Linked DNA regions of Homo sapiens: regions 1, 2, 3, 5, 6 and 7 are each linked to region 4. The links are contacts of gene promoters, found by promoter capture Hi-C in blood cells and fetal thymus (Javierre and others, 2016). All regions are on one chromosome and are shown on one strand. The core of a region is centred on a gene start or on the middle of the fragment in contact, and the rest is flanking DNA. Distances in the headings are between cores, read along the strand shown.

Region 1 (3,742 bases), core at 469-2,968, 480 kb after region 4:
TGGAAAGTCAGCAGTGGATAACAGAGATGGGAAGGGATGGGAACCTCCAGAAATGGCAGGGACACAAAGACCTAAAGAGATGCATGACAGAGACAGAGACAGGTGGTCAGAAAGTCAGAGGGCGATTCAGACTGGTCAGGTGGGAGACGGGGGAGGACTAGCAAGGGACTGAGGCTGTGGCCCACCAGGTCCCTGCGTCCTGCGTGGATGGGGCTGTGTTTGTGTGACTGGTGTCTGCAGGTGCTGCTTCGGGTGGGACGCTGTGACGGGGTTTCTGTGCCAGACTTGGTCTATGCGGGCGGCCTCTCTGAGACTCTTGGGGACTCTGTCGGGGTTCTTGGTTGTCCCTGGAACTCTTTGTTCAGGGGAGGGCCTGGGGGAATCCTCCAGAAAGTCTGAATTAACCCAGCTCCCTGCCCTCCTGAGCGCCCACCCTCCAGCCTCCTGCCTCCTTGCACTCTCCTCCCTTTTCTTAGGGGGAAATCTAGGAATCTCCTTGACCACCCCCTGCCTGCCAGGCCCTACTGGGGAGACTCAAGGTCCAGCTATCTAACCTCAGTGCAGAAACCTGCCCCTGGCCCTCTCCCCAACTGGGAGGGCCGGGCCGGGCCGGGGTTAACCCTTCAACCTGCTTTAACCCTTCCCTTCCGTCTTTCCTTCATCCTCCCATGCCCATCGCTCTTCCACTGTCCAGCCCCACGAACCTAGACATTCAATCAGAGCTTGGGAATCCAAGACCCCAGCCCAGCACCCCAACTTCCTGTATCTCCAGCTCCCTTCTCCCCCACATAACTGCAACCTCCCCAAGTACCAACACTTTCTCTCAACCTAGATGACCCTGCTGGGGGATTTCAGACCCTTCCCCTCTTTTCCTGACCCTGGGACTAGGTCTGTGGACACCCTTGTCCCCTCCTCTTACTGACCCTGGGAAGGCATCCATCCCCTGACCTCTGTCCCGAGATGACTACCCCAGCCCCCGGCAAGGACCTCTTCAGGGACCCTCTCCACGTACAGATGAAGACCCCTAACAGGGCATTATCCCCTGCCCCCCACCCCAACTCAGTTCGGAGATCCGACCCGGGGACCCCGAGTCCAGTGTCTGCCCCCTCCTCAACAGGAGCCGCAGACTCCTGCCCCCAGGCAGGGCTAGGTGTCTGCGACCCTCTTGCCTGCTCGGGGAAGCAGACCTCCGCCCCTAGACCCGGCTCCGGCCCGAGGACGCCGACCCCTGCCCCGGGGCGCGGACCCCCACGTCCGAGGTCCCCCTGCCCAGCCAGGGAATGCAGACCCCACCCCCGGGCCCAGACCCCGGCGTCCCGGGGCCTCCCCGCGCCGGCCCAGGGATGCAGCCCTCGACCCCCACCCCTGATCCCCCGATTACCCACCCAAGACCCTGGCGTCCCGGCCGAGCCCCCCGCCCCCGGCGCTGCGGTACCTCGGCTGATGACGGCCAAGCCGGCCAGGGCGGCGGCGGCGAGAAGCCGGAGCCGGGCCCCGGGCGCAGGGGGGGGCATCGCGGCAGAGGCGGCGCGGAGGGGGAGGGGAAAGGGGGGGCCGGTCCGGGGCGCGCGAGGCCTGGGGGGAGAGGGGGGAGGGGGAGGGGGACCCCGCCTGCGCTGCACCGGCCCGGGGGGCGGCGGGGGCGGGGGGAGGGGGCTGGGGGGGCGCGACGAGGCGGCTGGAGCTGCTGCAGACCCGGGGAGGGGGGCGGCGCTGACGGGCAGGGAGACCGGCCAATCAGGAGAGGTGGGGGGCCGGGGAGGCGGGGTCAAGGGGGGGTTGCTTGTTGGAGGGAGAGGCCTTTGTTACTGCGGCCCGGCCCCTACCCCTCCCGCCCCAGGCGTCCCCACGTCTTTCCACCACATCCGCAGAACACGGAGTCTGGGATACTTCCTAAAACCCAGCTCCCTCCTCCTTCAAGTCCCAATCTCATCCTCCCATGGACCTAGGAGACTAGCCCCAGTCCCTCCTCTCTCAGACCCAGGAGCCCAGGTCCCCAGCCCCTCCTCCCTCAGACCCTGGAGTCCAGGCCCCCAGCCCCTCCTCCCTCAGACCCAGGAGTCCAGGCCCCCAGCCCCTCCTCCCTCAGACCCAGGAGTCCAGGCCCCCAGCCCCTCCTCCCTCAGCCCAGGAGTCCAGGCCCCCAGCCCCTCCTCCCTCAGACCCAGGAGTCCAGGCCCAGCCCCTCCTCTCTCAGACCCTGGAGCCCAGGCCCCCAGCCCCTCCTCCCTCAGACCCAGGAGTCCAGGCCCCCAGCCCCTCCTCCCTCAGACCCTGGAGCCCAGGCCCCCAGCCCCTCCTCCCTCAGACCCAGGAGTCCAGGCCCCCAGCCCCTCCTCCCTCAGACCCAGGAGTCCAGGCCCCCAGCCCCTCCTCCCTCAGACCCTGGAGCCCAGGCCCCCAGCCCCTCCTCCCTCAGACCCAGGAGTCCAGGCCCCCAGCCCCTCCTCCCTCAGACCCAGGAGTCCAGGCCCCCAGCCCCTCCTCCCTCAGACCCTGGAGCCCAGGCCCCCAGCCCCTCGTCCCTCAGACCCAGGAGTCCAGGCCCCCAGCCCCTCCTCCCTCAGACCCAGGAGTCCAGGCCCCCAGCTCCTCCTCCCTCAGACCCTGGAGTCCAGGCCCCCAGCCCCTCCTCCCTCAGAGCCAGGAGTCCAGGTCCCCAGCCCCTCCTCCCTCAGGCCCAGGAGTCCAGGTCCCCAGTTCCTCCTCCCTCAGACCTAGGAGTCCAGGCCCCCAGCCCCTCCTCCCTCAGACCCAGGAGTCCAGGTCCCCAGTCCCTCCTCCCTCAGACCCTGGAGTCCAGGCCCCCAGCCCCTCCTCCCTCAGACCCTGGAGTCCAGGCCCCCAGCCCCTCCTCCCTCAGACCCAGGAGTCCAGGCCCCCAGCCCCTCCTCCCTCAGACCCAGGAGTCCAGGCCCCCAGCCCCCTCCTCCCTCAGACCCAGGAGGCCAGGCCCCCAGGCCCCTCTTCCTGTGGGCCACAGTTCAGCTTTTCCATCTATTTTCATGGATAACGAAAACACTGACTTTTGGAGTGAAATTTGCTTTTTTCCTCCACCCCAACCCTCATCCCCAGTATAATAAGGCAATGGGAAGGGATTGGGGGACTTATCTTGGGGGAGCAGGTGGGGAGGAAACCATAATCCAGGGTTTAGGTGCAAAACATCCTGGCTCCCTGTTCTTTCACTGACTTGGCTGTGTGACCTTGGACAAGCCATTTCTCTTCCCAGAACCTCAGCGTCTTCCCCTGCAAGGTGGAAAATTCCCTATTGCCCAAGGTTATTGAGAAGAATGAGAGATCTTGGAGCAGCTCCTGGCTCCAGCCAGCACCTCAAAAACCTGTAGTGAGTTTCTCCCTCCCCTTTCCACTTTGCATCTGTTTACTAGGTGTATTCCACCCTCCTGTTCCCGTCCCCTTGGCATACGCAGGAGCAAAATAATCTCTGAGTCTACGTTATTTCTGTAGCAGTTCAAGGCAGGAGCTTTTGAAGTTACCCAGTAGGGGCTGTTCTGCCTCAGAAACATATCCATCCTCAATTCCTTCCCCCTCCACTCACATCCAATTTGTCTGCAAGAACCGCTGGCTCTGTCTCCAAAACAAATCTCTGCTTTGTCCTTTTCTTACTCTCCCATCCTGGTCTGAGCTTTCACCACCTCTCCCTGTAGGACTCTGGCTGTAGCAGCCTATGCTCTACTCTCTTGGCCTCTACCTTTGCCTCCACCTTCAGAACAACCACCACTAA
Region 2 (4,013 bases), core at 1,112-3,611, 290 kb after region 4:
GGTTCTGCAGGCTGTACAGGAAGCAGGATGTTGACATCTGCTTGGCTTCTGGGGAGTTCCTCAGGAAACTTACAATCATGGCAAAAAACAAAGGGGAAGCCAGCATGTCACATGGCCAGAGTAGCAGGATAGAGCAAATGGGGAGATGCTGCACACAGACAACAAGCAGATCTTGTTAGAACTCACCCACTCTCACAAGAACAGCTCCAAGAAGATGGTGCTAAGCCATTCATGAGAAATCCACCCCCGTGATCCAACCACCTCCCACTACAACCCACCTTCAATATTGAGGCCTATAATTCGGCATGAGATTTGGTGGGGACACAGATCCAAACCATATCAGGCTCTAATCCTATTAGGCTAATCCAAACCACCTATCTAAACACCATGCCTTCTAATACTATCACATGGGGGTTCAAAGGTCAACAAATGAATTTTGAGGAGAGACATGTAGCTGTAGCACTTGTCACTCTGGTCCTTAATATCTTCCTCTCCAAATTATGGAAGTGGGTCTAGAGGGCCCATCAGCTCCTCTGAGTCATATGTGGTTCAAACGTTCTTCCTTTGCAGATTCTCTGTGGCTTCCTCATGTCTCTCCTTCCCATTTTTCTGCTTTTCTTTGCCAACTGGGGACTGTGGGAAAGAGATGGGCCGTGGTCGAGCCCTTCTTCCCATTGAGATGCTGCAACTGTCCTTACGGGAAGAAAGTGACACGGCAAGGATGGGGGCCCAGGAGCAGATTGGTCTGCAGGATGAGATACAAGCTGCAAATGCAGGAATTAGTGGTGTCAGGGAGAGGAGCAGCTATGCATGCCCCAATCCTGCACATTTCCTTTTCAATTATCACAGCCAACTGACTCTACTCCAGGTTATGGGCAATTGGGGACAACATGGGGATGGGAAGATCCATGGAGCTGAGTAAAATAAAACAGATTGTGGTTTTTATGTAAAAATAGTCTTTAGAAAAACCTATGCAAAGCCATAGTATTGAAGGCAGTGCACTCAGATGATAAAACTACATAGAAAAGCAAGGAGACCATTATCATTAAAGTGAGGCTGGGGCATCTTCAGGAGGAACTGCATGTGGCCTATAGGAAGGGGAAACACAGGGCTGAATAAATGAATGCAATTTCTTTCTTCATCTCATGGGAGAAATTTGGCAATTATCTTGTGATGTTCTATTTCTTGAACAGTGATAATTTGGTGAAAATCACTGAGTCATTTTTTTAGGTGGCACTTTTATTTACTTGTATTACATTTCCCCAAAAATCATTGTTTCAAGAAAAGCTGACATGGGTCTAAGGAGGGCGAATCTTGCAGGATTTTCCCCACCTTCCTCCCAGTACATAGCATACAGTTTCAAAAACTCTTCTGCTGAATTCAGGTGCATTTCTTCTCCCATGAAATCCTGTCCATCATTGAGCGTGGACACGCCAGGGCTGGTGTCCTCGCTCCACGTCTCCTGTTCACCTGAAACCCTGGGAGCAGAGCCTGCAGGAACAAAGGGCCAGCAGACCCCTCATGCTCTGGAGTAAGGAGGACTTGTGAGAGAGCAGTGGTGAAGGATCCCATCCTGAACCCAGAGAGCCATGGCCGAGAGAGAAACGCCTGCCCCTTTAGAAATCTGTCCCTTCCCATCCAACATTCCTCCCTTCCAGACCTCACTGTACAACAGTCACAGCCTTAGCTTCTCAGGCCTCCTGTGAACTGGGCTCTTCTCTGTGTCTTTGGTGTGTATCAACACACGGAATCCTCACCTCCACGACCCCGTGTCTCTCTGCTCAGTCCTCCCGAGACTGATTCCCCAACATAGGAGAGAGCGACCACACCCTGCCTGGTACCCCCACTGAAGCTCCTGCCATGGAGAGCTCAGATATCAGGAGCCTCAGTGTCTCCCCACTACACAGTGACTCTTTGGGGACAGTGTCTAGCTCTGCTGTGTTGAACTCCACCTCACGGCCGCTGAGGGAGGAAGGAGAGGTTGCCTGCTCATCCCACCTGCACCCCCATCTCTTATATCCTAGTGTCACCTCTGACCTACAGAGAGACATCCACAGCCTGTACTTCATAGGTCTGGCCACATGGGACTCATTTTCACCTTATGGAAAATATCACCCAAGGGGAAGGGCACTGAGAGGGAGGCAGTGGGCGGGGTGGGCCCTGCATGGGGTTGGAATCTGGGTGAGTCTTTCATCCTCTCTGGCCTCAGGGTCCCCAGGAGTGGACGGGGTAGTGGACGGTGGATCTTCCAGGGGTGACCCGGCCCTGACAGTGTCTGTGTGTGAAGTTCCTCCTGTGAGGTCACCGTTCAGAACCCACCCCCAACTTCCTGTGCGGCTTCCTCGAAATCTTGAGTTCTCAGTTCCTGAGAGAAGAACCCTGAGGAACAGACTTACCTCAGCAACCCTGGCACCTCCAACCCGACACATGCTACTGCTGCTGCTACTGCTGCCACCCCTGCTCTGTGGGAGAGTGGGGGCTAAGGAACAGAAGGATTACCTGCTGACAATGCAGAAGTCCGTGACGGTGCAGGAGGGCCTGTGTGTCTCTGTGCTTTGCTCCTTCTCCTACCCCCAAAATGGCTGGACTGCCTCCGATCCAGTTCATGGCTACTGGTTCCGGGCAGGGGACCATGTAAGCCGGAACATTCCAGTGGCCACAAACAACCCAGCTCGAGCAGTGCAGGAGGAGACTCGGGACCGATTCCACCTCCTTGGGGACCCACAGAACAAGGATTGTACCCTGAGCATCAGAGACACCAGAGAGAGTGATGCAGGGACATACGTCTTTTGTGTAGAGAGAGGAAATATGAAATGGAATTATAAATATGACCAGCTCTCTGTGAATGTGACAGGTAAGGCACGGGCTCCAAGAGAGGCCAAAGGCAAATGTGATGAGGGCTTTAGGGCACGGCTGAGACGGGACACATGTCCTGGGAGGGGGCCGGGGGTGATGGACTCAGGGGAGGAGCTGGACCAGAGCCTGAGCTTCCCCAGGACCGCACCTTGGATGCCCCTCCTGATCCTGCAAGCCCCTCCCCTCACCAGCCCTGACCCACAGGCCTGACATCCTCATCCTGCCTCTGACGCTGGCACTGTGGCATGTGGGGCCTTATGACTCCTTGTTTTGGGGCCTGTCCTAGGCATGGCCGGGGTTTAGCACCATCCCAGGCCTCTCCCCACCAGATGCCAGAAGCACCCACCCCACCCATGCAGCGAGACAATTATCTCCACACATTGTCAAACGTCCTGGGGGGTTAAGTCCTCCCCAGTTGAGAGCCTTAGGTCTACACAACCCCGTGACTCTCTCAGGCCAGGCCAGGGAGGAAGCACTTCCTGGCGCAAACCAAGGGCAGCAGAGGCACCTGAGCCTGGACAGGGAGACTCAGCACACGGCCCCTCCATCTCTCATGCCCCGAGGTCCTCGGAGATCCACATTTAGATGCTCAAAAGACAGGAGGGACCTCCACGATGGTCCAGAGGCCGGGAGGGCAGGACCTACGTGTCTGGTGCAGGCCCTGGTGCTTCAGGGAAGCCCGGAGGTAGGAGGCGGGACACGGTCTCTTCTCCTCCCTGGGTGGGTCTCTAGGGTCTCTGAGCTTTAGGGTTTCCTTCACTCTGTGCAGAGGGAATGAGTTCCTATAGCATGTGGGTTTGCAGTTTCTCTTCCATGCAGGGCTGAGGTCTCCAGCTCCTCTCCAGCCCCCTGTGGGTCCCACAGCCCTGCCCCTCCTCTCCCTCCCCCTTCTCTGCTCACACAGGGAGCCCAGGAAGCCTCTGCCTCAGAGATGCTGCTGCCCCTGCTATGGGCAAATGAAGAGAGGGACAGTGGGGGCTGGGCTGACCCTCGTTTCTCCACAGCGTCCCAGGACCTACTGTCAAGATACAGGCTGGAGGTGCCAGAGTCGGTGACTGTGCAGGAGGGTCTGTGTGTCTCTGTGCCCTGCAGTGTCCTTTACCCCCATTACAACTGGACTGCCTCTAGCCCTGTTTATGGATCCTGGTTCAAGGAAG
Region 3 (3,890 bases), core at 823-3,322, 380 kb before region 4:
TGGCTCACTGCAACCTCCGCCTCCCGGGTTCAAGCGATTCTCCTGCCTCAGCCTCCCAAGTAGCTGAGATTACAGGTGCGTGACACCACACCCGGCTAATTTTTCTTTTTTTTTTTTTAAGAGACAGAGTCTCACCCTGTCACCCAGGCTGGAGTGCAGTGGCGCGATCTCGGCTCACTGCAAGCTCTGCCTCCCAGATTCAAGCAATTCTCCTGCCTCAGCCTCCCGAGTAGCTGGCACTAAAGGCATGCGCCACCACACCTGGCTAATTTTTGTATTTTCAGTAGAGATGGGGTTTCACCATGTTGGCCAGGCTGGTCTCAAACTTCTGAGCTCAAGTGATCCATCCACCTTGACCTCCCAAAGTGCTGGGATTACAGGCATGAAGCACTGCTTCCAGCCAAATTTCCTCTTATCAAAACATCAGTCAGATTGCATCAGAGCCCATTCTAACAAGCTTAGTTTAACTTAATAGCCTCTAAATGCCCTATTTCAAAATACAGTCATATTCTGAGGTACTGGGTGTTAGAACTTAAAGACAATGATTTATTTTATTTTATTTATTTATTTATTTTTTGAGACAGAGTCTCGCTTTGCCGCCCAGGCTGGAGTGCAGTGGCTGGATCTCGGCTCACTGCAAGCTCCGCCTCCTGGGTTCACGCCATTCTCCTGCCTCTGCCTCCGGAGCAGCTGGGACCACACGCACCCGCCACCACGCCCGGCTAATTTTTTGCATTTTTAGTAGAGACAGGGTTTCACCGTGTTAACCAGGATGGTCTCGATCTCATGACCTTGTGATCCGCCCGCCGCGGCCTCCCAAAGTGCTGGGATTATAGGCATGAGCCACCGCGCTTGGCCAACAATGATTTTTTAGGGACGTGATTCAGCTCATAACATTCTGTACTCTGGACTCCCAAAATTCATGTCCTTCTCACATGCAAGATCCCTTCACCCCCATCCTAACATCTCAAAAGTCTTATTATTATTATTTTTTGAGACAGAGTCTCACTCTGTTGCCCTGGCAGCAGTTCAGTGGTGCAAAGACAACTCATTGCAGCCTTGATCCCCTGGGCTCAAGAGATCCTCCCACCTCAGCCTCCCAAATAGCTGTGACTATAGGCGTGAGCCACCATGCCTGGCTAATTTTTGTATTTTTTGTAGAGACAAGGGTCTTACTATGTTGCCCCAGGTTGGTCTTGAATTCTTGAGCTCAAGCAATCCTTCCACCTTGGCCTCCCAAAGAGCTGGGATTACAGGCCAGAGCCACTGCTCCTGGCCCATTTCAAAAGTCTTAATCCATTTCAGTATCAAACTCTAAGGCCCAAATATTACCCAAATATTATCTGAATCACATATGGGTGAGACTCAAAGTGTGGTTCATCCTGAGGCAAAATTTCTGTCCAGCTGTGAAACTGTGAAGCCAAAGAAGCTATTTGCTTCCAAAATACAATGGTGGGACAGGCACAGGATAGACCGTCAGCCCTGGAAACCACCCTTCTACTCTGTTACTGTAATTTTGATGTTTGTAGATTGCACATGTAAGTAAGCACATGCAGGATTTGTCTTTCTGTGTCTAGCACATTTCGCTTAGCATAATGTCTTCAGGGTTCCTGGATCCAGCCACGGCTGCACATCAGATCTTCACGGAGATCCTAGTTCCCTGACTACTGAGTAACTTCAGCCTTAACTGGCTTCAGCCTCACTGGCAAGACCCGATGGAGTCCACCAGGCTCGCAAAAATCGATTTTGACTTAAATCAGTTCAACTTGACAAGAAGAAAACATCTTAGTTTCCAACAGAAGTGGACCACAACTTTAAGCTTTGACCTTAAAGTCTAAAACATTAACTTAAAATAGGCAGGAAGCAACGCTGCTTCACAGGACAAGAAATAGTCACAAATACTCCTAAATCGGGAGAACAAAGACTTGCTGGGTGGAAGGCAGAGCGAATAACAGGCCCCGCCCACCAAACAGGTCCCGCCCACACCGCCCGTCCCGCTTAGCCCACCTGGCCCCGCCCACTACCGCATCAGCCTTGCCCCACCCTTTCAGGGTTCCCAAATCTGGCCAGTCTTTCTGCCCTTTCCCTTGCGGGTCGCACCCCGCCCAGGCCCCTCTCCCGCCCCAGGTCTCTCAGTCTTTTTTCTCAGGGCGTGTAGCTTCCTGCACACCCGGAAGCAGATCGCGCGGGGAAAAGATCACAGCGCTGCGCGTCAGTTTCCGTCTACCTGGACTAAACATTTGCTTCGCCCCGTCTGCCTGAATCGAACGTGCACTTGGCAGTCTTCCCTTGTCCATACCCGTTTCCTGGGGATCGCTACGGACCTTAAAATACCAGCAACAGCCCCTTCGCCCCAAGTAAGTCTGATAATTGCTTCCCTTTCGGTTTAAAAATCTCTCTGAGGCTGTTCCTTGCTCCCTGCCTTTCTGCCTTAGGACCATGTAGACAACCCCACTCAGGTCGTGTTCCTGCTTAAAACCCTTACTGACCTCTGCTTCGGCCCTGCGCCAAGTCGAGTCCTCACTCGGGAGGTGGATTCCCGCCCGTTGCGACCCCGGAGCTTCTCCGTCGTCAGCCCCTGGAGGGGAGCGCCCGCCGTCCGGCTCCTGAAGGAGTCGCTTCTCCTCCCAGGTCCTGGGATTCTGCAGACCCTCCCTGTCCTGAGACACCGTACCCCCTGCCACCTTGTGTCCTCCTCACGCCGGGTCCTTTCGCTCCCCAGGCTTCCCCTTCACAGCCACTGCTTTTCTCGATCCCCCCCTTGGGGGAGGTCACCTGAGTCTTGTGACACCCAGTGTTCTTCCTTCCCAAATTTTACTCCACTGGAAAATATGCTTTTCCGGGAGGTGGGCATCCTATTCCTCCCCTTTCTTACTGAATGTGTGGGTGAGAGGGATCAGGAGAGGAAAAGAAGGGGAGCGACGGAGCAAAAGGAAAGACCGAATAGAAGAGAATGAGGGAGACCCATAAATACACGGCAAAATGGATGATAATTTAGGGATTTGCAAAGAGACAGCAAGAGTGAAAGAGAACGAATGGAGAAAGAAGCAGGGGGAGGAAAGCACACAGAGAAATTTAGAAAAAAAGGGGGACCTTCAGAGAGATGAAAGGCAGCAAAATAGAGTGGGGCGGCAAAGGAGGAGGCACTGCAGACAGACAGTGGGGAGAAGGTGAAAGAGTTGGAGCCGCAGCCGACAGAGCTACGTGGTGCTGGGACTGAAAGAGAGGGAGAGAGGGCAGTGGGTGACAAGCAGAGTAGAGGGAGAACCACAGCAGGGAGGAAGCCTAGGGAGTTGGGGGTGCTAGAGAGTGGGAACAAAGGAGGTGTAACAGGTAAGAGGGAATTTTAACAAGGAGAGCAGAGAGGGAGCTCAGATGGGGAAAAAGAGGCGGAAATACGTGGAGATTGGGGACAATCAGAAAGATTGGGGAGAAAGAGCTACGAGAGGTGAAGTAAGTTGCAGAGCATCGGGCAGAACAGACATAAAGAGGAGAAAAACAGAAAAGGGGAGGAAAGGTGCAGAATGAGAGAGGGACACACACAATAGTGAAGAAAGTGGGAGAGGACCCCATCCAGATGAGCGATGAGTTGATTGGATATGGATGGTGGTTGTAATATTCTAATTTGTGACTTTATACTCTAATTTAAAATTCATTTCTTTAAATTGTACTCGTGAGGATGAAAATTACCACTCTTTTCTGTAAGGCTTGTGCATTTTGTATTTATTTGTATCAAAAGATATTTGGAATTTCTGTTTAGCCAGAGAGCATTTAAATTAAGTCATTCGTGGTAACTCTTTTCTTCCCTGGGATGGGGTAGAGGATAGAGTAACTGAGAAATGGGGCGATAAATGACTGTCACTGTCACTACAAGGTATGTCTTTTTTTTT
Region 4 (4,135 bases), core at 833-3,332:
CTGTCCTTAGCACTCCACCTAATGCATTTTCCCAAGGATGCTTATGACCCCCAGGCTGCCAAATCCAGTGAGTCCTTCTCAGTTTTTAAGACCTGATATCCCAATGACACAGGACCCATTGGATCACTTTCTCCCTTTTCAAACACATTTTTCCTATGCCATGAGATATATCCAAGAGATATGTGCACACAATACACTCTTGGTCGTCTCTACAGCTCGATTCTCTTCCTCTTTTTAGTCCAATTTACGGTGTTTTCTATTCTAAATTTGACTCTAAATGTTGGGGTATCTCACATTCTATAAATGATATCATCCAGTCTCTGGGATTAAACCATTATGCTGTCTTTTCATCTAAATTATCAGCCGTGGCCTCTCCCTGGCACTCAAGTCTGATAAAACCTCTCCCCGTGGGAGTCCCATAGACTCCAAACCTCACATGGTTTTACCAAACTGTTGATGTTCTCTGCCTCCCAGACCTGCCACTCTTCCAATATTCTGTATCTATTTGGAGATTAAATATTCAGTTGTTAAAGCTCCAGATCTAGAACTCACCTTTCATTTCTCTTTTCCTCACCACCCAACGCCATCCACGTCTTACTCATTCTATCTACAGAACATGCTGAATGCACAGCCAGAGCCATTGCCATCTCCACGACCGGTGTCCATGGCCCTGTCAGGCTTGGATATTTGCACAAGCCTTGCAAATAGCTTTTTCCTGGTCCTGCTGCCCCCTCCCCTAAGATCCATTCTCCAGACAGAAACCAAATGAGCTTTAAAAAGGTCCAATAAGATGGTGATGTTATTCGCAATACCTTCCGATGGCTTCCAGACTTCTAAGTTACCCTTATCTTAGGTTCCCTTATCCTAGGTTCCCTTATCCACTGCCACATGTGCCCTGTGCATCCCTCAGACCTCATCTCTGCACTCTCATCAGACACACTGGGCTCCACCCACTGGGCTCTAATTCCTTGAACTTGCAGCTCTTTGTCATCTCAGGGCTTCTGCTTTCTCTATTCCTTCTGCCTACCGTGCTCTTCGTCTTGAGCTTCCTGCACCTGGCTCATCCTGAATATTCATATTTCAGGTCAAATATTATTTCAGAGAGATCCCACCTCACCCACTCTGCAAAGCAGAATGCTCAGGTACAGCCTATCTCACCAGATACTTTTCTCCTTTATTTGTTTGTTCATTTATCTTCTCTCTTAAATACCCTCCACACTAGTACGTAAGCTCCACAGGACTATCAAGATCCTTCAATGCTACATCTCTACAATGCTACATGTCCAGTAGAAATATAATGTGTTAACTTTAGCTACATATGGGACTCAAAATTTTTTTGTAGCCACTGTTTTTAAAAAAGTAAAACACCTTTGGGGAAATTATTTTAGTAATAAATTTTATTTAATTACATATATGATAAAGAATTGGCCAGTCACATTGGCTCACGCCTGTAATCCCAGCACTTTGGGAGGCCGAGGTGGGCAGATCACGAGGTCAGGAGTTGAAGACCAGCCTGGCCAACATATTGAAACCCCGTCTCTACTAAAAATACAAAAAATTAGCCAGGCGTGGTGGCAGGTGCCTGTAATCCCAGCTACTCAGGAGGCTGAGGCAGGAGAATCGCTTGAACCTGGGAGGCAGAGGTTGCAGTGGGCTGAGATTGTGCCACTGCACTCCAGCCTGGGTGACAGCGCAAGACTCCATCAAAAAAAAAAAAAAAAAAAAAAAAAAAAAGAATGTTACTGGAACATGTAACCAAATTAAACACTGTTAATGAAATAGTTAACATTGTTTTCATACTAACGAAGTGGATTCTTCACTGGACTACGCTACTCCAGAGTTAGAAGGGCTCTGTCATATAGCAGGCATTTCAACAATAACTTTAAAATTTTCAGACCCCAACTTACCACCAGCTTAGATCCTTTTCCTGTGCCCAGTTCCTGGATTCCTGTGGAGCAACTCAGGCTCTAAGTACTTGTAAAAAGATGAAGTTATATGTTTGGTTTTAAGATCTTAATTGGCTTTGGTTATAAAGATGGAATCAGACAGCCTGTCATGCTATAAAACAAAATGAGTGTTTTGATAGTTAGAGCCAAGGAAGTTGGTTTTACAGGGATAGGAGGGCTAAAGAAAGCAGAAACAGAGAACAAAAACCTGATTGGTCATCTGGATGTTGCATTTTTTTTGTGCAGCAGGAATAGAGAGACAGCAATAAGGAACAACTGATTGATTGAAGTCAAGTTACCACAGATTGCTTTTTTTTTTTTTTTGTAAAGATGAAAGCAGACAGAACTTCATGTTCATGCCCACTGAAACTGGCCTGTTTTAGGAATTTGTCCATTTTCTCTCTCTCCTGATTTCTCAAAAGTTCAGATACATTAGTTTTGGTTTGGTGATGTGGAGTTTTAGTATGACTGACTCCATTTGGTTTGCTTTGTCGAACCTAGTACAATAGGTCAGTCCAAACCACTTACTTGCTGTTTTTATAGAACAGGCTTCAGCAGAGACTTAGTTGAAGGACACGGGGACAATGGAGCTGGAATCAATCCAGTGACACAAACTCAGGGTTTCTTACCATTCCCAGAAGACACCTTGGAGATGTTCTCAGACGATTTATCTTGGAAACTTATGTGTCTGAATGTTCCTTCACCTCTAGCCTTCTGTGGGAGACTGGAGTTCATCCTTCCAAATATCAAAGGCCAAGAAATCTGAGAGTCCAGGCCCTTTCTTTTCAGAGATTCAGGAAAATGAAAGAAACAATTACCAAGGTGAGAAGAATGAGAGGAAAAACAATAAAAAAACAAAGATGCACGGTGAAACAAAAACTCGATTCTCTACTTTCACAATCCTTCTGACCAAATATACTTTTTCTCTACACCAAGAAATTCTCCAATTCTCTGGGGACACCACCTGGGCCACCTGCAATTAAAAATTCGGTTATGATGCTGTCTACCTGGATTCAGCTCAGATCCGAAAAGCTAAAGGGCTCACTCCCACAAACTGTTCTCAGATCAGATCAGACATCTGTTGCAAGTCCCAGGTGGCTACTTGTACTTCTGACTGACAGGCTATAAATTGGGTGTTCCAATGACACCAATAAATTGCTAGAATGGCACACAGAACTCAGGAAAGCACTTTGTTTGCATCTGTTGCTTTATATAAGGAATATACCTCAGGAATAGTCCATTGGAAAGAGGCATATGGCAGGTATATGGCAGGGAAGGGGTTGGGTGGTGCATGGAGCTTCCATGCTCTCTTCAGGCAGCCACTCTCCCAGCACTCCTGAGTGTTCACCAATGTGGAAGCTCATCAAATCTCATTGTTCAAGAGTTTTTATGGAACTCAATCTCCAGTCCCTGCCTCCCCTTCCTGGAGATCAGTAGGTGGGGCTGACAGCTCCAACCCTCTAATCCCTTGGTCTTTCTGGTGACCAGTCCCATCCTAAGGCCATGATCTCCTTAGCATAAACTCAGCTATGATCAAAAGGGGCTGTTTATGAATAACAAATAATACTCCTATCACTCAGGGAATTCCAAGGGTTTTAAGAGCCCTGTGCCAGAAATCTGTGACAAAATCAAATATGCTTTGAGGTATTTCATACCTCAGAGTTACAAAGAGAAGCAGTAACTAGGAGCATGTAGAGAGGTAAGGAAGGTAAATGAGAGACACTGTACACTCCACACCATTGCCGAGATTAACCCCCTAACCTTCTGCCCCTAGGGAGATGCTCTATGGACTACTGATCTAAGGAGATGGGCTCTTTCTGAGTTTTTAAACACCATCAGAATGTTGTTCTCAAGCCCAAGGAATAGAACCATGAAAAACAGTGGAGAGCCACAAAACAAGAGTCAACTATTTTCTATTTTCTCTCTGATTCACTGGATGTTTTCAGTGATAAGGTAGAGTAAACCAATGAAGCACATAAGCCATGGAGAAATTTATTATTAAAAAAAGTTTTGGAAGGGGATAGATCTGGAGTTTGAACAAAAATTGAGTTTAATGTCACCCTTCCACTCCATCATCATATTGGTTTTCTTCTAGGGCTTTCTTGAAAGTGACCACAGAATGGCTGCCACTGTTCTGGACATTGCATCAACAGGCCCTCCCGAGCCAGAATCATGAGACAGGCAGAAAA
Region 5 (3,850 bases), core at 584-3,083, 270 kb after region 4:
CCCACCTCAGCCTCCCAAAGTTCTGGGATTACAGGCATGAACAACCATACCTGGCCTAAGTCTTTGAATATGTGTATTTATAGCCGTTTTTAATCTTCTTTTCTGCTAATTCCATCATTTGGTGATATGTTTCTATTTACTGATATACTTTTCATTGCTTACATTCCACAGCTTCTTCGCATAGGTAGTGATTTTGGTGGCATACTGGACATCGTGTTACATTGTTGATTATCCGGATATTTTAATCTTCCTTTAAAAATTGTTGAGCTTTGTTCTCGAATGCAGTTAATTTATTAGTGGATTGTCTTGACCATTCAAAGATTTTTACAAAAGCTTTGGCAGGGTGAGTTTATATTTGCCTTCATTCCAGCTTTCTCATAGCTGTTCCTTCTCCAGCAGCACGTACCCAGGCTTTCAGCCTTTCACTCTGTGCATACAGCTTAGTATTCAGCCAAAGATTCAAGGGGACCTCTATGCATATTTTTTGGAGTTCTTTCTCTGTGTAGTTTTTTCTCTCTGTACTCTGCTCTACAAATTCCACCCACATCATTCCCACTTGAACTGCAGTTGCTGCCTCCACAGTTTCATAAGACTCTTGTGTTCTGCTTGAATTTATCCTCCACGTACTGCAGTTTGGAAATTGTCATTTGATCATGAGACTCACCTCATTGGTTTCCTTTCTTTCAGATGTCACAGTCCTGTCTGCCTGTTTTCCTTGTGAAACACATATTTTACATACTATGTATAGTTTTCTAATTATGCTGGGAGGGTGCCAGTTACTCTACCATAGCCTGAGTGAGAACTGACCAAGAATAATTCAAGTCATGATTCCTGTTGTTCAGACCCTCAGGAAAAATTGGTGCTGGGGGAGGTAATACCTAGACTGTCTTCCAAAAGTCTGGGATGTGTGGATGGGGGAAGGTGGCCAGGGGAAGCCCAGGGAGAGGCAATTTCCACCTGTTATTTTCTTCATTCAGTAGGGCTTTTGTGCTGATCTGTCATTTCTCCTGCAGAAATTCACACCTTTAGTCTCGGACTTTGCCACTGATTTGTGTAGCAAGAATGCAGGCAGGAATATATTATCCCAATGATGGAGGAAAGACATGAGTGGAACATAAATCTCATTTCTGTAGCCATTCACGCACTGTCACCAATGCCTCCCTGAACACACACACACACATATACACACACACACACTCCAGTATAAAATATTTTGTTTCCCCAGAGATTTCCCACTTTTTCTTATTTGCTCATTCCATAATTTCTTGTATTGCCTCTTGGTTTATTTGGAGATATAACACACTTAGTGTGTGTTAAATCCCCACTTTGTTGGGAATCATTACATAATTTCTTTACCATGCTTTACTTTCAAGTTTTCAGGGGCATTAGAAAGAGAAGGTACAGGAGAGGGCGTCCGGTGGCCTGTACTGCAGGACCCGGTCTCTGTTCTGTCCTCCAGTACCTGTCTAGGAATCAGATATGCCACTCCTGCCCCTGCTTTATATTTCAAAATATCTGCTATCATGAATTAAAAAAGTGATTTTGTTTCCTGTTTTTAACTAACTGCATCTCATAGAAAACCACACTGCCTACTATCTGGGACTGTGTCTGCTTTCTTCATGGCTTAACATCTAGCACATGTCACATGACCTACACAACAATAAGCTGGTTCTGAGTCCTTCTCAGTGGTGCATTTATATAGATGTGTGTCTATAGGCAACATGTGGAGCCTCTCTTAGCCTTAGTGTTCCCGTTTGTAAGATGAATGTAATCATGGAATCCACTGCAAAGCATTTTTTGAGAATAGAATATGACTGATTAATGTAAACACTCACTAAGGGCTTGCCAATCTTAATTATTAAATATTTTAAAATAAATGAATGCGGTGGATGTGGTGGCTCATGCTTGTAATCCCAGCACTTTAGGAAGCCAAGGTGGGTGGATTCCTTGAGCCCAGGGTTCAAGACCAGCCTGGGCAACATAGTAGAACTCCATCTCTACAAAAATTAGCCAGGTGGGGTGCATGCCTGTAGTCCCAGCTACACAGGAGGCTGAAGCAGAAGGTTCATTCGAACCCAGGTGTTCAAGGCTGCCTGAGCCGTGATCATGCCGCTGCACTCCAGCCTGGACAACAGAGCGAGACCCCATCTCAAAAATAAAATAAAATAAAATGAAATAAAATAAAATAATAAATGAATGGATAAATAATAAAGTTCCATCAGTTCTACTCCCTTTCTGATCCTTGGCTGCTTTCTTTGAGAACCTATTGTCCAGCCCTGAATCTTTTCTTTTCTTCCATTAAGGGTCATCAGCACCAGTTCCAGACAGGCATAGTTTCAGACCACCCTGCTGAGGCTGGCCCCATCTCAGAAGATGAGCAGGAGCTCCACTACGCTGTCCTACACTTCCACAAGGTGCAACCTCAGGAACCAAAGGTCACCGACACTGAGTACTCAGAAATCAAGATACACAAGTGAGGAATTGTCCAAAGCCATAACCTTGATTGGAGAGAACATGGTACCTCTCAGTGTATTGGTTACTAGGGCTGCCACAGCAATGTACCACAAACCGAGTGACATAAACACAGAACTTTATTTTCGTATAGTTTCAGATGTTAGAGGTCTGAGAACAAGGTGTTATCAGGGTTGGTCCCTTCTAAGGCCTCTCTTGTTGGCTTGTAGATGGCTGTCTCCTCCTTGTGTCTTCACATGGTCTTTCCTCTGAGTGTGTTTGTGTCCTAATCTTCTCTTCTTATAAAGACACTAGTCATATTGGATTAGGGCCTCCCCATGACCTAATTTAAATAAATTAACTATTTAAAGACCCTCCAAATACAGTAACCTTCTGAGATATTGAGATTTAGGACTTCCAACATATGAATTTTAGAAGGGAACAATTTAGCCCATAACACTGTGTCCAATTCTTTTAAAATTAATGTTTTTGTTGTAAATGGACTATATAAATACCTTCGTATATATGGCAGACCACAGGACTTCTGTCCAAGAGAACTGAGTTCAACTCCATCTATGCCAGCTATTGAGCAAGTCGCTTTATGTCCCTGCTCTGTAAGGCAGGGAAATAATTTCCATCTAACCAGATTATTGTGAAAGGTCAAAGAAAGCATACAGCTAACATACAGCTTTGTTAGCTGTAAAACAGCTAACAAAGGCCCTGACACAAAGGTTTTCATAAAGTCTGTATATTTTTGTAAATGAATGCCTTGTATCTGGCTTTGGCTAGCTTTTTTTTTTTTTTTTTTTTTCTGAGATGGAGTCTTGCTGTATCTCCCAGGCTGGAGTGCAGTGGTGCGATCTTGGCTCAGTGCAAGCTTCGCCCCCTGGGTTCACACCATTCTCCTGCCTCAGCCTCCCAAGTAGCTGGGACTACAGGCACCCACCACCACACCCGGCTAATTTTTTGTATTTTTAGTAGAGACGGGGTTTCACCGTGTTAGCCAGGATGGTCTTGATCTCCTGACCTCGTGATCTGCCCTCCTCGGCCTCCCAAAGTGCTGAGATTACAGGCATGAGCCACCGCACCCGGCTTTGATTAGCTGTTTTAACAGACGGTTTCTGCTGGCAATTTCTTCTAAGGCTGAAAAGGAGTAGGCCCAGAGGCCACAGCACCAGGTGTCTGTGTCACCCCCTGTTCAGAACTCTTCACGACTCCCCAAAATAAGGTTTCCATCCATCATCTTTCTGCTCAAGGCTCTCTACATGATCTTGTCCATCCAGATTTCCCCAGATCAATTCCTCACCAGTCACCAATACCCCATGTCCATTTCCACAGCTTCCTCTTACAAATCCCAGTCTCCACTATTCCAGTGAAATTGAAGAAAGCATTTAATGAA
Region 6 (3,984 bases), core at 1-2,500, 440 kb after region 4:
CACTCCATGAACCCCTTCTGTGAGATCGCGGTGGAGGAGGCTGTGCGGCTCAAGGAGAAGAAGCTGGTGAAGGAGGTCATCGCCGTCAGCTGTGGGCCTGCACAGTGCCAGGTGATGAAGGTCTTGGGGAGGGGGCTGGACTCCTGGGTCTGACGGAGGAGGGGCTGGGACCTGGACTCCTGGGTCTGAGGGAGGAGGAGGCTGGAAGTCTGGACCCCTGGGTCTGAGGGAGGATGGGCTGATAGCCTGGATTCCTGGGTCTGAGGAAGAAGGGGATGGGGGCCTGGACTCCTGGGTCTGAGGAAGGAGGGGCTGGGGGCCTGGACTCTTGGGTCTGAGGAAGGAGGGGATGGGGCCCTGGACTCCTGGGTCTGAGGAAGAAGGGGATGGGGGCCTGGATTCCTGGGTCTGAGGAAGGAGGGGATGGGGCCCTGGACTCCTGGGTCTGAGGAAGGAGGGGCTGGGACCTGGACTCCTGGGTCTGAGGGAGGAGGAGGCTGGAAGTCTGGACCCCTGGGTCTGAGGGAGGATGGGCTGATAGCCTGGATTCCTGGGTCTGAGGAAGGAGGGGATGGGGGCCTGGACTCCTGGGTCTGAAGAAGGAGGGGATGGGGGCCCGGACTCCTGGGTCTGAGGAAGGAGGGGATGGGGGCCCGGACTCCTGGGTCTGAGGAAGGAGGGGATGGGGGCCCGGACTCCTGGGTCTGAGGAAGGAGGGGATGGGGGCCCGGACTCCTGGGTCTGAGGAAGGAGGGGATGGGGGCCCGGACTCCTGGGTCTGAGGAAGGAGGGGATGGGGGCCCGGACTCCTGGGTCTGAGGAAGGAGGGGATGGGGGCCTGGACTCCTGGGTCTGAGGAAGGAGGGGATGGGGCCCTGGACTCCTGGGTCTGAGGAAGGAGGGGCTGCGAGCCAGACTCCTAGGTCCCCCTGAGGATAGCAGCCAAGTCAAGCCCCTCTGTCCTTGGCAGGAGACGATTCGTACCGCCCTGGCCATGGGTGCAGACCGAGGTATCCACGTGGAGGTGCCCCCAGCAGAAGCAGAACGCTTGGGTCCCCTGCAGGTGGCTCGGGTCCTGGCCAAGCTGGCAGAGAAGGAGAAGGTGGACCTGGTGCTGCTGGGCAAACAGGTAGCTGTGGTCAGCCCTCCCTGTGCCCCCTTGCTCATCCCTGCTCGGGAGGAGGGTGGTGGAGATACGGGGTGAGACAGCAGCTGGCCAGGCCCAGGGCATTCACCACTCCAGGCTGAGCAGCTTGGGACTTTGCTGACCCTTCTGACAGAGAGTTTGAGCAGGGAGGACAGAGTCCCTCTGGGTGTTAGAAAGATCCTCTTGGGCCAGGCACGGTGGTTTACGCCTGTAATCTCAGCACTTTGGGAGGCCGAGGCCAGTGGATCACTTGAGGTCGAGAGTTTGAGATTAGCGTGGCCAACATGGTGAAACCCCATCTCTTCTAAAAATATAAAAATTAGCCGGGTGTGGTATCACCTGCCTGTAATCCCAGCTACTTGGGAGGCTGAGGCATGAGAATCACTGGAACCTGGGAGGCGGAGGTTGCAGTGATACAAGATCGCACCACTGCACTCCAGGCACCACTGCACTCCTGCCTGGGAGCAGAGCGAGACTCTGTCTCAAAAAGAAAAAAAGAAGAAAGATCCTTTTGGGTGAGTTTAGAGGCTGGGAGGCCGAGGTGATGGTCACATGGGGGAGAATGAGGCCTCAGCCAAAGGTGACAGGACAGAGCAGAGACATGATGTGGCAGGAGAGACTGGGCTTAGCATGGGGAGGGAGGGCAGGGAGGAGGCAAGGACAGTGCCTGGGTCTGCCTTGGTAACACAGGTAGGAAACCCAGGAAGAACAGGAGGTTAGAGGAGGATCCTACAAGGGGAGTGTGAAGAGCCCAGGAGACATCGATGCAGGTTCAGGAGACAGGCCTGGGCTTGAAACAAAGACTTGAGAATTTTGGAGGGCACTGGGGAGCTATGGGAGTTCTATGAGCAGAAGAGGGGTGGGATCAGCACTAGGTGCAGAAAGAGCCCCCCTGGGCTTTGAGAATGGACTGGAATGGGAAATTGGAGGCCAGGAGTTAGGGAAGGAGGTTAGGGCTGGGTGAGGACCCGACCAGAACCTTCCCTGCCACACTGGTGCTCCCCACTGAGATAGGGGTACATGGAGCTCATCTGTTCCCCCAGGAGACCCTCGGGCACCACCTCTGCTCAGGGGTAGCTCATCTCATTTGAGGGCAAACCTCATGGCCTCAACCAGGGAAGGGGCAGAAGAGGGACGTCAGAAGAGCCACAGGCAGATGGGAGTGAGAAGAGGCAGGGAATTAGGGATGAGGCTGAGAAGGAAGGCCAAAGACTGCAAGGTATGTCAAGCAGAGCACGGAGACAGCAGAGCACAGCAGGCTCAGGTAGAGCTGGGGCCCCCGGAGAGAGATGGGGATCCCAGGGCCAGGTCAGTTCTGGGACAAAGAGGAGGCTGATGGGTCCAGGTAGGTCACTGGGTGTCCTGCCCAGCCCTGAGAAAGTCAGAAGAAAACAGAGAGAGATTATCAACAGCAGGGGCATCAGAGTACAGATCAGTCAACTGTGGCCGAAGGGCCTACCCGGAGAACAGGCCAAAAAGGCAGGGCCTGGGTGGGGCTGCAGAGGCCGAGGTGCTGGAAGCATGGCCTTTGCAGCCCCCTGCATTTGCTGGTCGTTCTCAGACTCCGATGTCCTACCTGTCCTGGGCCAGGGACAGTTCCTGGGGCCAGGGCCTCCAGCTGGGGAAATGCCGGATGAACTGGTCAGGATGCTGTTTGTTCTAGGAAGCAGATTCACAACTCAAACTGGCTTAAGCCAGAAAGCGAATTTATTATCTCACGTAAATCAGGGGCTTCAGGCACAGCTTGATCCAGGGTCACATATGAGCTGTAGGCTCCCCTCTACCTTGTCTTCACTGTCTGCATCTCCAGGCTCAGATCCCACCAGCCCAGTGACCCCAGCAGAAAGAAAGGAGCATCTTTCCCAAGGGCCCCAGCAAACTCCCAGGGCTGACTCTTCTTTGGTGCAGCTTGAGTCATGTGCCCCTCCCTGAACCAATCACTGGGCTGGGGCTAGAATGTCCTTGCTGGCCCAGACCCTGTTCATGCAGCTGCCCAGGGGCCACATAGGGTGGGACTCCTGAGAGGCTTTATACAGAGGGCAGAGACTTGACGACAGGGATGCCAGGTGGCCCCACATGTCCCTGGACAAGTGGCTGCTTATCTCTGGGCCCAAGTGAGGGGATCGTTCTAGACCAAAAGTCAGTGAACTATGGCCCAGAGCGACCTCTGATTTGTAAATAAAGCTTTATTGGAACATCACCACATACATTCATTTACATATTATTTATGGCTGCCTGTGTGCTACAACAGCAGCGCTGAGTCACCGTGACAGAGACCGTATGACCTGCAGAGCCTGAGATATTTACTACATCTGTTCCACCATAGAAAAGGTTTGCCAACCCGACTGGCTGCGGTGACTCATGCCTGTAATCCCAGAGCTTTGGGGGATCATCTGAGGTCAGCAGTTCAAGACCAGCCTGGCCAACATGTTGAAACCCTGTCTCTACTGAAAATACAAAAATTAGCTGGGCGTGGTGTTGGGTGCCTGTAATCCCAGCTACTCAGGAGGCTGAGGCAGGAGAATTGCTTGAACCCAAGAGGCGGAGGTTGCAGTGAGCCAAGATTGTACCATTGCACTCCAGCCTGGGTGACAGAGCAAGACTCCGTCTCAAAAAGAAAAAAAAGAAAGAAAAAGTTTGCCAACCCCTGTTCTAGACAGAGGCCTGAATGGTCCATGAGCTCCACTGATTGTCATACAGTCTTCTGTCTCTCCCCATTCAGGCCATCGATGATGACTGTAACCAGACAGGGCAGATGACAGCTGGATTTCTTGACTGGCCACAGGTGAGACTGGAGTGGGGAGCACCTGCTGAGGGCCAGGCCCTCATCCCTCAAA
Region 7 (3,670 bases), core at 605-3,104, 390 kb after region 4:
GGCACCTGTAATCCCAGCTCCTCGGGAGGCTGAGGCAGGAGAATTGCTTGAACCTGGGAGATGGAGGTTGCAGAAGCCGAGATCATGCCACTGCATTCCAGCCTGGGCAATAGAGTGGGACTCCGTCTCAAAAGAAAAGAAATAGAGCAAAGGAGAGCACTTTGCTGGCCATCTCCTCTGCTGACCTCTGCTCCTCCATAGCCACCCAAGGGGCCTTTCTTCGGTAGTTATTGCATCGTTGGTGACATGGCAAGGTGGCCCTCTCTGGTGTGTTTTGTTTCCTGGCTGTGCTAAACACTCCAGATACTGAAAAATAAAAAATTAAAAACTGAGCTGGACACGGTGGCTCACGCCTGTAATCCAGCACTTTGTGAGGCCGAGGCAGGCGGATCACTTGAGCTCAGGAGTTCGAGACCAGTCTGAGCAACAGAGCGAGAGCCTGTCTCTACTAAAAATACAAAAATTAGCCAGGTGTGGTGGCAGGTGCCTGTATTCCTCAGCTATTCAGGATCCTGAGGCATGAGAATCGCTTGAACCTGGGAGGCAGAGGCTGCAGTGAGCTGAGATCGCGTCACTGCACTCTAGCCTGGGTGACACAGCGAGACTATGTCTCAAAAACAAAGAAAAAACCTGAATTAGCTGCAAGGACCAAAGTTGGCCACCAGACGTCGGTATACCCAGGATGATAGGACTATAGACTCATGGTGTGGAATGGGATCACCCAATGCAGCCACCTCATTTTACAGAAGGACTTCAGAGAGGGACAAGGTCTTGCATGTCACACAGCTGAACTCCAGAGCTGGGATTCAAACTCAGGCCCAGGATGGGTGAGCACTGCTGGTTACACAGTCTCCTTTAAGCTTAGAGTGGGAAGGATGCTGCAAGGGCTTGAGAAAAAGGGAACTCCCTACAAGCTGCACAAAGACTGAGACTCTGCTTCCTTCCTTCTACCACCAAATTCTGCCATGAGAGCAACCCTTGAAGATCTGTTTGACCTGGGAAATTACAAGATTGCATTGCTAAGGCACCAGGTTTGACTAGGTGTCAGTAACTTTGAAATGTGTGTGTTAAGGTCCTGACTTCTGCAATAGTGACTTGGGACTTGGAGGGAGGGCATTGTTATCCAGTACTCTTGGGGAAAGGCAATGTTGTGCAAATGAAAACAAACAAACAAACAAACAAAAACACCAGGCTTGGAGTCAGAAAACCCAAGGGGAACTTTCCGTATTGCCAAATATTCTTTTTCTTTTTTTTTTTTTTTTTTTGAGACAGTCTCGCTGTCGCCCAGGCTGGAGTGCAGTGGTGCAATCTTGGCTCACTGCAAGCTCCGCCTCCCGGGTTCATGCCATTCTCCTGCCTCAGCCTCCCGAGTAGCTGGGATTACAGGTGCCTGCCACCGCGCCCAGCTAATTTTTTGTATTTTTAGTAGAGACGGGGTCTCACTGTGTTAGCCAGGATGGTCTTGATCTCCTGACCTTGTTATCCGCCCGCCTCGGCCTCCCAAAGTGCTGGGATTACAGGCATGAGCCACTGCGCCTGGCCCCCAAATATTCTTTTTAACCAGTCAACTGGGACATTAACTGCAGGAAGTATGAATATAAAATAGTTATATGTTTTCTGATCACTGAGTCAATCATGTTTTTTTGTTTGTTTGCTTGTTTGGTTTTCGTTTTTGAGACAAGAGTCTTGTTCTGCTGCCCAGGCTGGAGTGCAATGGTGCGATCTTGGCTCCCTGCAAACTCTGCCTCCCGGGTTCAAGCGATTCTTATGCCTCAGCCTTCCGAGTAGCTGGGACTACACGTGTGCGCGCCACCACACCCAGCTAATTTTTGTATTTTTACTACTAGAGATGGGGTTTCGCTATGTTCACCAGGCTGGTCTCCAACTCCTGACCCCAACTGCTTTGCTTGCCTCAGTCTCCCAAAGTGCTGGGATAACAGATGTGAGTCACCGTGCCCAGCCTCCTCTGTTTCTTGATATGAGAGTTGTGTCCCCTGCTTCTCCCATACCTTCTCCAATTCCACCATTGGCAGACACCATGCAGCCTCTTACCGCTTTCTTGGGTGACATATCACCTAGATTGCAGAAGCCCAGCTACCCTCCTTCGTGTCCATCCACCCCCTGCTATAGACAAAATGTATGTGTCCTTCCAAAGTCTAGGTTGAATTCCTAACCCCCAATGTAATGATATTTGAAGTCAAGACCTTTGGAAGGTGATTAGGTCATGAGGGTGGTGCCCTCATAAATGGGATTAGTGCCCTTAATAAGAGACCCCAGAGAGCTGTCCCTCCTACCAAGTGAGGACACAACCAGAAGGCACCATCTGTAAGCCTGGAAGTGAGTCCACATCAGACACTGAATCTGCTGACATCTTGATCTTGGACTTCCCAGCCTCTAAAACTATAAGAAATAAATTTTCATTGTTTACAACCCATCCAGCCTATGGTATTGTTGTTATAGTAGCCAGAAAGGACTCAGAAACCCACACATCCTAACCATGCTGGACTGTGGAGTGCAGGCTACACTGCCCCAAGCTCCTCGTTGCCCCCAGCTTTTCCTCTCTAATGCTCCTCTCCCCTGCGCAGGGAGATGCAGGGCACAGCAAGAAGTTGGCTGCCCACACAGACACCCAATGGGGAGATAGTGTGTTGATTCCTCCCATTCTATCAGGAAACCCTAGTCTTTCCTAAACATTTTCTTGGAGCACCCCCTCCTATCCAGAGCCCTGGTACACGTGAAGAGTTCAGGAAAGAGAGGATGATGAAGCATCTCACCAAAGACTTCTCACCTGTCCAACAGCCAGCTGGCAGCTTTGTTTTTTTGGGAAGCTAGGCAGAGAGAAGCTTTCTGACCCCATTATTGGCTGCCCTCTTTAAACCATTTAAGAGGCAACAGAAAAAGTCCTATTCGGGGCGGGGCACAGTGGCTCACGGCTGTAATCCCAAGACTTTGGGAGGCCAAGGCGGGTGGATCGCTTGAGGTCAGGAGTTCGAGACCAGCCTGGCTAACATGGCAAAACCCTGTCTCTACTAAAAATACAAAAATTAGCCAGATGTTGTGGCGGGTGCCTATAATCCCAGCTACTTGGGAGGCTGAGGCAGGAGAATCACTTGAACCTAGGAGGTGGGTGTTGCAGTGAGCCAAGATTGCACCACTGCACTCCAGCCTGGGCAACAGAGTGAGACTGCATCTCAAAAAAAAAAAAAAAAAAAAAAAAAAAGAAAAAGAAAAAGAAGAAAGAAAGAAAGAGAAAAAGAAAGAAAATGTCCTATTCCTGGAAACCATCATTCTGAGCAAACTGTCGCAAGGACAGAAAACCAAACACCACATGTTCTCACTCATAGGTGGGAATTGAACAATGAGAACACTTGGACACAGGGCGGGGAACATCACACACCGGGGCCTGTGGTGGGGTTGGGGGATGGGGGAGGGATAGCATTAGGAGAAATACCTAACGTAAATGATGAGTTAATGGATGCAGCAAACCAACATGGCACATGTATACATATGTAACAAACCTGCACGTTGTGCACATGTACCCTAGAACTTAAAGTATAATAATAATAAAAAAAGAAAATGTCCTATTCGACATTTGCTAATGAGGAGGACTTAGGTATCATTTATACAGAAAATGTCATCTTTATTAAATAAGTCATACCCCCACCCTCAA

The links. Contacts are between HindIII fragments. The CHiCAGO score rates a contact against its expected background, and 5 or more counts as called.
Region 1: the fragment with the promoter of IGLON5 here is called in contact with the fragment with the promoter of FPR3 in region 4 in 4 of 17 cell types (neutrophils, activated CD4 T cells, erythroblasts and 1 more); the score reaches 11.2 in neutrophils.
Region 2: the fragment with the promoter of SIGLEC12 here is called in contact with the fragment with the promoter of FPR3 in region 4 in 2 of 17 cell types (neutrophils and monocytes); the score reaches 9.2 in neutrophils.
Region 3: the fragment with the promoter of ZNF836 here is called in contact with the fragment with the promoter of FPR3 in region 4 in 2 of 17 cell types (erythroblasts and fetal thymus); the score reaches 5.2 in erythroblasts.
Region 5: a contact is called between a fragment that was not itself captured here and the fragment with the promoter of FPR3 in region 4, in 1 of 17 cell types (monocytes). The highest score is 5.2, in monocytes.
Region 6: a contact is called between a fragment that was not itself captured here and the fragment with the promoter of FPR3 in region 4, in 1 of 17 cell types (neutrophils). The highest score is 6.1, in neutrophils.
Region 7: a fragment that was not itself captured here is called in contact with the fragment with the promoter of FPR3 in region 4 in 4 of 17 cell types (monocytes, M2 macrophages, M0 macrophages and 1 more); the score reaches 13.3 in monocytes.

What each region holds. Positions count from the first base shown.
Region 1 is chr19:51,309,620-51,313,361 of GRCh38, reverse strand. It overlaps IGLON5 (IgLON family member 5), which reads right to left and starts at 1,718. Exons shown (of 8, transcript NM_001101372.3): 1 at 1,436-1,718. The coding sequence starts at 1,514. The HindIII fragment of the contact is 5,776 bases long and covers 1-3,742 here.
Region 2 is chr19:51,500,148-51,504,160 of GRCh38, reverse strand. It overlaps SIGLEC12 (sialic acid binding Ig like lectin 12), which reads left to right and starts at 2,361. Exons shown (of 8, transcript NM_053003.4): 1 at 2,361-2,854; 2 at 3,861-4,013. The coding sequence starts at 2,428. The HindIII fragment of the contact is 28,149 bases long and covers 1-4,013 here.
Region 3 is chr19:52,169,803-52,173,692 of GRCh38, reverse strand. It overlaps ZNF836 (zinc finger protein 836), which reads left to right and starts at 2,072. Exons shown (of 5, transcript NM_001102657.3): 1 at 2,072-2,357. RefSeq lists a silencer at 1,904-1,953 and an enhancer at 2,534-2,673. The HindIII fragment of the contact is 2,622 bases long and covers 1,822-3,890 here.
Region 4 is chr19:51,793,104-51,797,238 of GRCh38, reverse strand. FPR3 (formyl peptide receptor 3) reads right to left here and starts at 2,082. Exons shown (of 2, transcript NM_002030.5): 1 at 1,908-2,082. The HindIII fragment of the contact is 12,110 bases long and covers 1-4,135 here.
Region 5 is chr19:51,518,709-51,522,558 of GRCh38, reverse strand. SIGLEC6 (sialic acid binding Ig like lectin 6) reads left to right here. Exons shown (of 8, transcript NM_001245.7): 8 at 2,304-3,850. The coding sequence ends at 2,477. Among named protein-coding and RNA genes, the nearest start is that of SIGLEC6, 11 kb to the left of the region's middle. The HindIII fragment of the contact is 2,995 bases long and covers 336-3,330 here.
Region 6 is chr19:51,350,277-51,354,260 of GRCh38, reverse strand. It overlaps ETFB (electron transfer flavoprotein subunit beta), which reads left to right. Exons shown (of 6, transcript NM_001985.3): 2 at 1-111; 3 at 971-1,129; 4 at 3,870-3,932. Among named protein-coding and RNA genes, the nearest start is that of VSIG10L, 10 kb to the right of the region's middle. The HindIII fragment of the contact is 4,167 bases long and covers 1-3,333 here.
Region 7 is chr19:51,404,951-51,408,620 of GRCh38, reverse strand. No RefSeq gene overlaps it. Among named protein-coding and RNA genes, the nearest start is that of SIGLEC10-AS1, 8.9 kb to the left of the region's middle. RefSeq lists an enhancer at 689-738. The HindIII fragment of the contact is 1,983 bases long and covers 863-2,845 here.